Linked DNA regions of Homo sapiens: region 1 is linked to region 2. The links are contacts of gene promoters, found by promoter capture Hi-C in human tissues and cell types (Jung and others, 2019). All regions are on one chromosome and are shown on one strand. The core of a region is centred on a gene start or on the middle of the fragment in contact, and the rest is flanking DNA. Distances in the headings are between cores, read along the strand shown.

Region 1 (4,790 bases), core at 1,581-4,080, 40 kb after region 2:
CCCTGGCCTCTTGCTTTTTTTATATATTTTTTTCTTTTGAGACGGGGTCTCACTCTGTCATCCAGGCTAGAGTGTAGTGGTGCAATCACAGCTCACTGTAGCCTCAACCTGCCAGGCTCAAGCAATCCTCCCCACTCAGCTTCCTGAGTAGCTGGGACTACAGGTGCGCACCACCATGCCTCGCTAATGCTTAAAATTTTTTTTGTAGAGATGGGGTCTCACTATGTTGCCCAGGATGGCCTCGCACTCCTGTGCTCAAGCAATCCTCCTGCCTTGGCCTCCCAAAGTTCCACGACTTCTTTTCTCTCTTTGTCCTATCTCAGTACAGCATAAAAATGGGGAGTAACCAGGGATCCCTCAGACGTCAGCCCATAAGACACCAAGACAAACAGGGACAGATTACTGAAAAGCACAATCTAAAGAAGTCCAGGCCTGGCGTGGTGGCTCATGCCTGTAATCCCCGCAGGATCACTGGGATCGCAGTGGCTCATGCCTGTAATCCCAGGTGGATCACTTGAGGTCGGGAGTTTGAGACCGGCCTGGGCAACATGGTGAAACCCCATCTCTACTAAAACACAAAAATTAGCTGGGAGCGGTGGCAGGCGCCTGTAATCCCAGCTACTCGGGAGGCTGAGGCAGGAGAATTGCTTGAACCCGGGAAGCGGAGGTTTCAGTGAGCCAAGATGGCGCCACTGCACTCTAACCTGGGCTACAGAGAGAGATTTTATCTCAAAAAATAAATAAAATAAAAAAGAAGCCCAGGGACAAATGAGCCCACCTCCACTGTAGACACTGGGAGCCACATTCTCAAAATGAGTAACTGCAGGGAAGAGACAGAATTCTCACAAGAGGGCATATCCTCCGCCCTTCATACATTTCTCCTGTAACACCCTTCTGGTTGAAAAGAAATAAGAAAGCTGTGCTTGACTTTTGCTCTAGTGCTTTTTAAGATCAAGCAGGAATCTTACATTCTTTCATTGCCTTTCACATTTCTTTTCCTTCTTCCGTGTCCTCTTTCTTTTTAAATTCAGATCATTTAACAGACAAGGGTCATAGCTAAAAATAAATCTTCATTGACCTGAGCTACCTATGATGTCATTTACTGTATTCATAGGTCTCCAGAGTCAACACTCCAGGCATGTAGACACACACAGGAGAATAAAACCTCAGTTCCCAGGCAGCTTCCAGAAGCTGTGGCATTGCTGTGGCCTGAGGCCTGGACTTTCCCAGGGGATAGGTATCCAGATCGTTTGTGCCCTTCCATATCACCTTTCATTCAGAGGCCTTACCTGGATTGGTAGCCAAGCATTGATACTCATGCCTCCCCAAAGAGGTAAGTTTTAGTAGGAAACTGAAAGAAACCAAGGCCCAACAAAATGAGGCAACTAGACGGAGTGACTGGGGAAGTTTCCAGCCAAGTCAGATATAAAATTTGTACTGTGAAAAACTGTTATCTGTATTTTGGTATTTACCAAAAAACAGTGAGCCATGATCACTCCATGCAGTGGGTTAAACTTGTGGGAGAAGTAAATTCTGTGGTGTCAGCTCAGAACAGAACATATTGGGAATGCATAATAGAAAAGCAGTACTCTCACTCAGCTTCATAACTCCAGCAAATTTGTGGATTGGGGTTAACCACGTCTGGAATTCCAGAACTCAAGTTACCCAAGTGTGGCAGGCCAGGGGAATTTCTGCGGGCTGGATGGGAAATCTTCAAAGTCAGCATTTATTTTCATCTGCACTCAATATTTTGGCCCAATATGTAAGTAACTTGATGTCCATTCTTGTGTTGATAAGGAGCCTAAAAGCCTGGAACAGAGAAAGGAAAAGTTGGTCTCCACTTGGATCTCAATGTGGTCATCAGTCATGGAAAATGCTGACTATGACCATTCCCAATCAGCTCCTCATGCCTGGCACTAAGAGACACTAGACACCTTGGGCTGCAATGACTGCATTGTGCGTTTGTCACTTTACCATAAGCTACATGAGTCCCCAGCTGGCTGTGTTAAAGTGCTCCATCTTCCCAATAGCCATGTGTCCCTTGACGGCAGGAACACTTTCATGTTTCTTCTGCAGCTCTCATGGTGCACCATGTTGCTTATTCTTTTTTTTCCCTTTTTAAATTTATTTATTTTTAGAGATGGGGTCCTGCTATGTTGCCCAGGCTGGTCTAGAACTCCTGGCCTTAAGACATCCTCCCACCTTGGCTTCCCAAAGTTTTGGGATTACAGGCATGGGACACCACGCCCAGCCCATGTTGGTATTCTCTCTGTCAGCACCCAAACAGGGAAGCAGAACCATGTGTAAATTTTGAAGGATATATTAGGCAATGGTGGGAGAAGCTAAGGAAGGGTGCATGACAAGGAGTTAAAGCATCAGTCACAAACCAGCCTTCCTGAAGCACTGGTGTGGATGGAACAAAGTTTGCCAAGGAATATAGGCAGCTAGGCACATCTGGTTGCTGAAGTGGGACCGTGAAAGTAGAGCTGGTAGAAAAGTCTATGTTTCTGATGGTGAGCCGGCCCCACTAATGGTCTTAGGAAGAGTTGCTGGCTGTGGAATGGGAAACTGAACAAGCTGGAACCCACCAGCACCCCTGCACCTGCCAGTCAGAGCATCAAACCACAATGACCTTCAGAGAGTAGTGGCTGTTGCTTTACTTCCACCTTCCTAATCTTGGACAAATTTCTCTTTTGTCCAGCTCTCACCCAGAGGCATACCAAGAAAGGAACTTGAGAAAACCATTCCAGTTAAAGCAAGTTGACCCGGCACAGTCCAAAATCCGTGCTATGCAGCACAGTCCAAAATCCGTGCTATGCAGCACAGTCCAAAATCCGTGCTACCCAGCACAGTCCAAAATCCGTGCAGGTATGTACTAGTTGCTCAGAACACAAGCAGTCAGTTTCTAGCATTGTGAGAAAAGCCCTGATCTAAAGTCAGGATATCTAGGACTTCTGGTCATAGTTCTACCTCTAAAAATGTGTCCTGGGCTAAATTGTTAACCTCTCTGCCCCTCAGGTCCTTAGGGAAAGAAAATGACGACTCATCACCTCTTAGATGGTGCATACAGAAGTGAAGGAGTTAAAATGTTAGCAGTGAAACTGTCAAACAGTACACAGGGGGAAAAAAAAGAAACTTCCATCCAAAGACTCTAAAAGATGCTAGATTCTGTAATGTTATTTTCTCTGATTTTCTTACTGTGCATGTAAAGCATGTTTATTTACAGCTAAGTCTCCCTGCTAAAGCATGGGTTTGAAAATGAGAAATTCTAGGCTGGGCATGGTGGCTTACACCTGTAATCCCAGCACTTTGGGAGGCTGAGGCAGATGGATCATCTGAGATCAGGAGTTCAAGACCAGCCTGGCCCACATGGTGAAACCCCGTCTCTACTAAAAAAATACAAAATTAGCCGGCGTGGTGGTGGGCGCCTGTAATCCCAGCTACTCAGGAGGCTGAGGCAGGAGAATCACTTGAACCCAGGAGGTGGAGGTTGCAGTGAGCCGAGATCGCACCACTGCATTCCAGCCTGGTCAACAAGACTGACACTCCATCTCCAAAAAAAAAGAAAATGAGAAAATCTAGCTATTTTTTCCTGTAACTATAATCTTGGTGTGCTATGAAATTTGGAGCAAGTCATTAAACCATTTTCTGTCAACATTTACTTATATACAGAATGGGATTAATAATATTCTAACAATAGTAATTGACCATTAGCTAAGTCCTTTAAAGAAATGAAGTCTCCAGCATTTGTTGCATCAAGGCCCTGCAGAGCTGTATGAGCTTCAGCCCCGCTGTGTTCTACTAGACTCCAGGGCTTGCCTGTGTTATCTCCAACAGATAAGATCATGCCAGAACACATGAAGTCAGCACTCACCCCATTTAACCTTAAGTCAACACTACAGGGTTTGCTTCCTTTTACCAAGTACCAGCAAACATAGAAAAACAATCAGTTTCCTGGTTCCAGTCTGATCTGCTGCAAAGAACAAAGAAGGGACCACCTTACTTTATCCACTGGATAAAGGGAACAGGGAGCCAAAAAATGATGTAGGAGATGGTGCCAGGCCGGGGTTGAGGAAGCAGGACAGAACCCAGGAATTTGCTTTCTCCTTGGACCTACTGCTTTCTACAGAGGGTCAAAGAGTTCGGCCAGAAACCTCCTCCAAGACCAAGGTTATGTGTGTGCCTCCTTAATTAGAAAAACAGGCCAGACACAGCAGCTCACACCTATAAGTCCAGTACTTTGGGAGGTCAAGGTAGGAGGATCACTTGAGGCCAGAAATTCAAGACCTGCTTGGGCAACATAGTGAGACCTTATAATTACAAAAAAAAAAAAAAAGCCAGTCTGTTAGTTCATTTTCATGCTGCTGATAAAGACATACTTGAGACTGAGCAATTTACAAAAGAAAGAGGTTTAATTGGACTTACAGTTCCACGTGGCTGGGGAAGCCTCACAATCATGGCGGAAGGCAAGGAGAAGCAAGTCACATCTTACATGGATGGCAGCAAGCAAAGAGAGAACTTGTGAAGGAAAACTCCCCCTTATAACAACCATCAGATTTCATGAGACTTACTGTCATGAGAACACCATGGGAAAGACCTGCCCCTATGACTCAATTACCTCCCAATGGGTCACTCCCACAACACATAGGAATTCAAGATGAGATTTGGGTGGAGACACAGCCAAACCATATCACCAGGTGTGGTGGCATGTGCCTGTAGTCCCAGCTACTCAGGAGGCTAAGGTCGGAGGATTGCTTGAGCCCAAGAGTTTGAGGCTGCAGGGAGCCATG
Region 2 (4,497 bases), core at 705-3,204:
ACTCATCGCTTATATTTGAAAATAACTTGTGTGAAATCATCAAGGGAAAAGGGGTCAGTCGCCTAGAGACACCACATTAAACTCACTCTTTAAGGCCATCATAAATACAGGTAACTTGGAATCAGAAAAAAAAATTCAAATTCACAGTAAGCCTAAGTAAAAATTCAACAAAGATATATCACAATATATATATAAAAGCAAAATGGAAACACGTTTAACCTTGATAGAAAAAAAAAATGAAAAGCAAAGTTTAAAATGGAAACTACCGAAATTGAGAAAGAATTCCAATGACATGACATTTTCTTGCCAAAGCGAAGGAATTTGTAGATTATATCATTCAAATCTCATTGTATTACATTATAAAGGTCTTAGCAACGGTTGGCCATTAATCTTTAACACAAAGGAGATTCAAATCCAAATGAACTGTAAGACTATCTCTTCCAGGAGAGAGAAATGGAGTAATTTACTTTATCCACAATTGTTTAACCCAAAAGGAAGGCCTTTAAGGATGATAACGCAGAATGGATCAGCCTTCAGTCTACCAAGTCCCATTTCACACGAAGTCTTGCACCAATCCGAAAAGAGAAGGTTATGGACACAGAACAGGTTTAGGAAAGGCTGGAAAAAAAATCTCCAATGAATGACACACCACATCACGGTTTATTCTCCTACACAATTTGAGAAACAATAAAGAAAAATATCATACCATATGTTTCATCGTATCAATTAAAAAAATATTTTACGACAGTACATTCAATTCTTCGGGGCCGCAAAAATAATTTAGCTCCTGTTTTATTGAGTACAGAGCAAAGGGAAAAAGCAGCTGCTGCAATGCAACACAGGCTGCTACAGAGAAAGGGGAGAAAAGGCTTTTCCAAACAGATCCCTTCCCCGCCCCCGCTTACACACCCCTACCAACTTACTTATCCCAGTCTTTTACTGCCCCCACCACGTGAACCTAATCAATTCTTTCCCTTCCCCCACCATCGTGAAATTTCACCTTTCACAGCTCCTTCACCTACCCCTACCAGAGGCACTTTATTACCCGCAGAGATTTCAGACCTTTCAAACTTTTCTTCCTTTTTTAATTAAACACGAGAGTTCGGAGGCAAAAGTGCATGAAATTTTTACATATATACGAAAAAATACCTGTTTCCCAGCAACACGCACGCTTCGATTCTCGAACCCCTCCCCATCTCCCGGGTTTCGCTTGCAAAGGCTTGGGGGAGGGAGCCAGGCGCAAATTAAATTTAGGAAGGGAAATCCTGGGTGAAAGAAGAGCATTTGAGGAAAAATGAGAGAACGATGAAGCGAGACCCCCAAACCACACGGGTTGGGGAGGTTTCCAAGAAAGAAAGAGAAATTGGAAGGGACAAAAGGCGGAGGGGGGAGGAACAGACCGGAGACCAGGGGAGACGCGCCGGGCCGGGAGAGGGAAGGCGGGGTCCGAGGAGAACGGGGGTCGCGGCTCCCGCGGCACAATGGCCCGCCCGGCCCCCGCCCCGCGCGCCCCTCACCTCATGGTGCCGGCGGCGCAGAGGCTTCCCCACCAGCCGGGAGACGCAGAAGGCGCCGAGCCGAGGGGGGGGTCTCTCCTCCAGGGGTGGGGAGCAGCTCGGAGACGGGAGACAAGTGTCCGGCTCCTCCTTCGGCGGCCAGGGGGCTACACCATCTCCTCGCACAAAGCCGAGGCGCCGGCCGGGAGTGTGGGAGAAGAGGGCGAGAGAAAGGCTGGGGAGGGGGCGGAGAGGCCGAGGCGCGGAGCTGGTCCCCAGGCGGCCGCCGCCTCCCACCTCCTCGTGGTCCTGCTCCTCCTCCCGGAGCTTCCTCGGCCGCCCTCTGAGGGGTGCCCGCCGGGGCCGCGCGCCCGGCCGCCGCTCCACAGGCCCGCGCTCGCCGCGCCGCCGCCGAGGCCGTGTGCAACCGGCAGCTGCTGCAGCCGCGGGAGGAGAGTCGGGATCGCCGCGAGGAACCCGGGAGGAGGCGGGGCGCGCGGCGGAGGAACACGCAGGCGCCGCCCTCCTCCCCTCCTTCCCCCGGGGGCGAGGGGGCGGTGCGGGGGGAGGGGAGGAAAGGGGAGGCGGGGGGCCGGGCGCACTCCCCCGCGCCGGCGGCCGGGCCCCCGCCGGACTGCGGAGAGCGAGGCTGGGAGAGAGCGAGCGCGACGGCGGCGGCGGCGGAGAGAGGCTCTTTGTTGCCTCCCTACCCCGCCCCCTGCACCCCTCTGGGATTCGGGCGGGCCACCACCCCCCCCTCCCGCCCAACACCTCCGGCCAGTTGTCGGCCGGGGTTCCTCGCCCGTGGTTGTCCTTGACCGTCGGCCCCCTCCCCGTCGCCTCCCGCTCCCCAGAGGCTTGGGGAGCTCCGAGGCCTCCCCCACGGCCACGGTGCGGAGACCGAGGCGCCGAGACCTCCTGGGCGCCAGACCCGTAGGCACCGGCGTGGGGAGCTTGGACGCGTGACTGGGCACAGGGCCGGGCCAGGAGACTCCGGGTCGGCTCGCGGCCGGGTGCCCTCGCGCGGGGCGAGTGCTCAGCCCGCCCTGTTGCGGTCTCAGGACGGGGATGAGGGAATCGGGGGGCATCCCGGTCAGCCCAACTGCCCGCCCTCGCCGCGGCTGCGCCCAGCGATTCCTGCGGAGTTGAGGAGGGGCATATAAATGGAAAATATGGTCATCATTGTTCCCTTCGCTCCTTTTCTTCCCGAGGAATCCCAGCGTGCTGCGCCGATGGAACGAGTTGATGTGCACACTAGGTATAGGGATGACTTCATCCCCAAACGAACGCAGCCGACTCTCGGGGAAACGCAGTCGCCGGGAGACGCGCGCGGAACAGTGTGTTGCCGCAAGAGTGGAAGAAGAGAAACGCAGCCAGTGGAGCCGCTTTCCAGCGTCATTAGCAAAGAGGGAATCCCGGGCAGGGGGCGGGGAGAGAGAGGAACTAATGATAATTTTAAATTTTTCGTCATTCCCAATGGTCTTGAAGTCACCTCCCTTAAAAAGTAGATATAAAATACTGGCGAGGCAATTTCATTTCAAGTCAAGTCGGGGAGGAGGGCATCCAGGAAGCCAGAATTGATCGTTGTTGAAGGTTTTGTTTTCGGTTTTTTTTAAATCTAAAAACAAATCCAATAATAAAATTTTTAACTGTACGAATTACGGCCCCCTTTTAGTCCGGAAGACAGGGATGTACTTTCTGTATAAAAGGTGAGGAGGATAGAAAAGGGTTGTTGCTACAGGGATCCTATTGCTGAAGGATCTCATCCAAAATGGAGGACCTACCATGACTCCAGGAATCCATTCAAAAGTTTTGGTGTTTTGTTTTAAGATGCAGGTACCATTCAAAAGATAGTTAGGAAGGTTGGGATAATGTACACTTCCAAATGAAAAGACAGGTTATAGTGATCCGTGGTCAATGCCTGATTTGTCTATAATTGAACTGTGTAGCCCATTTTTAACCATAAAAAAAGCTTCCTGGTTTCAGCCGGGTGCGGTGGCTCACGCCTGTCATCTCAGCACTTCGGGAGGCTGAGGCAGGCGAATCATCTGAGGTCAGGAGTTCCAGACCAGCCTGGCCAACATGGCGAAACCCTGTCTCTACTAAAAATAAAAAATAAAAAAACAGCCGGGCGTGGTGGTGCACGCCTGTAATCCCAGCTGAGTCAAGAGAATCGCTTGAACCCGGGAAGAGGAGGTTGTAGTGAGCTCAGATCACACCACTGCACTCCAGCCTAGGTGACAGAGCGAGACTCCATCTAAAAAATAAATAAATAAATAAATAAATAAATAAATAAATAAAATTCCTGGTTTCAGAGCTCAATACCGAGTTATTTTCTTTTTGGAACCGGCAGCCTTAGACCAACAGCCCTATAGAAGCAGTGACCCGGAGCTATGGCAGAGGATCAAGGTGGCCTCAGGTAGTAGAAAGCATGATGCCTCTGCCTTAAACATGGTGTACTTGAAGAACGCTAATTTCCACCCACATATCTAATTACAGCTTACCATTACAGAGGGCATTTTATTCAAGGATCTCCAACCACTGGAGAGAAAACAAACTTGCCAGTCAAATGTTCTAGTTGCCATATTGCAAGTAGAGACAGGGAAACATAGAGCTCAAGTAACTGGATCAATTAGTGCAACAGGCATGATTAAAAATCATAGCTACCAACTATGAGGGTCATTGTCTTACGTAAGTTTCTCCCTGTAGTTTGAAACACATACCTCAAGTATTTGAACATGTGCTGTGGAGAGTTTTTTCTTGGAAAAATTAAGACATATTGAACCATCTTGGAAAAGTATTAATAAAACATATTCGACCACAGAGAAGTCACACCAATTTGCCTTAGTCCATTCATAGCAATACAGTAAATCCGACAGAGCTTATGTTTCAGGGAAAACTCTTACAAAGGGCCAAAAGGGGTGGAGAGAGTGCTGTAATGACTCAAGCTATCTCCTGCCAGACACAAGAAACAAGGATAAAAATTCCTTACAGATGACTC

What was found. Contacts are between HindIII fragments. The study calls those that stand out against the background at their distance.
Region 1: a contact is called between a fragment that was not itself captured here and the fragment with the promoter of ENAH in region 2, in 1 of the 25 tissues and cell types used here (aorta).

The regions. Positions count from the first base shown.
Region 1 is chr1:225,690,461-225,695,250 of GRCh38, forward strand. LOC102723834 (a long non-coding RNA gene) reads left to right here and starts at 1,227. Exons shown (of 4, transcript XR_426933.4): 1 at 1,227-1,333. The HindIII fragment of the contact is 6,670 bases long and covers 1-4,790 here.
Region 2 is chr1:225,651,169-225,655,665 of GRCh38, forward strand. ENAH (ENAH actin regulator) reads right to left here and starts at 1,955. Exons shown (of 14, transcript NM_018212.6): 1 at 1,518-1,955. The coding sequence starts at 1,522. RefSeq lists a silencer at 1,805-1,934. The HindIII fragment of the contact is 16,817 bases long and covers 1-4,497 here.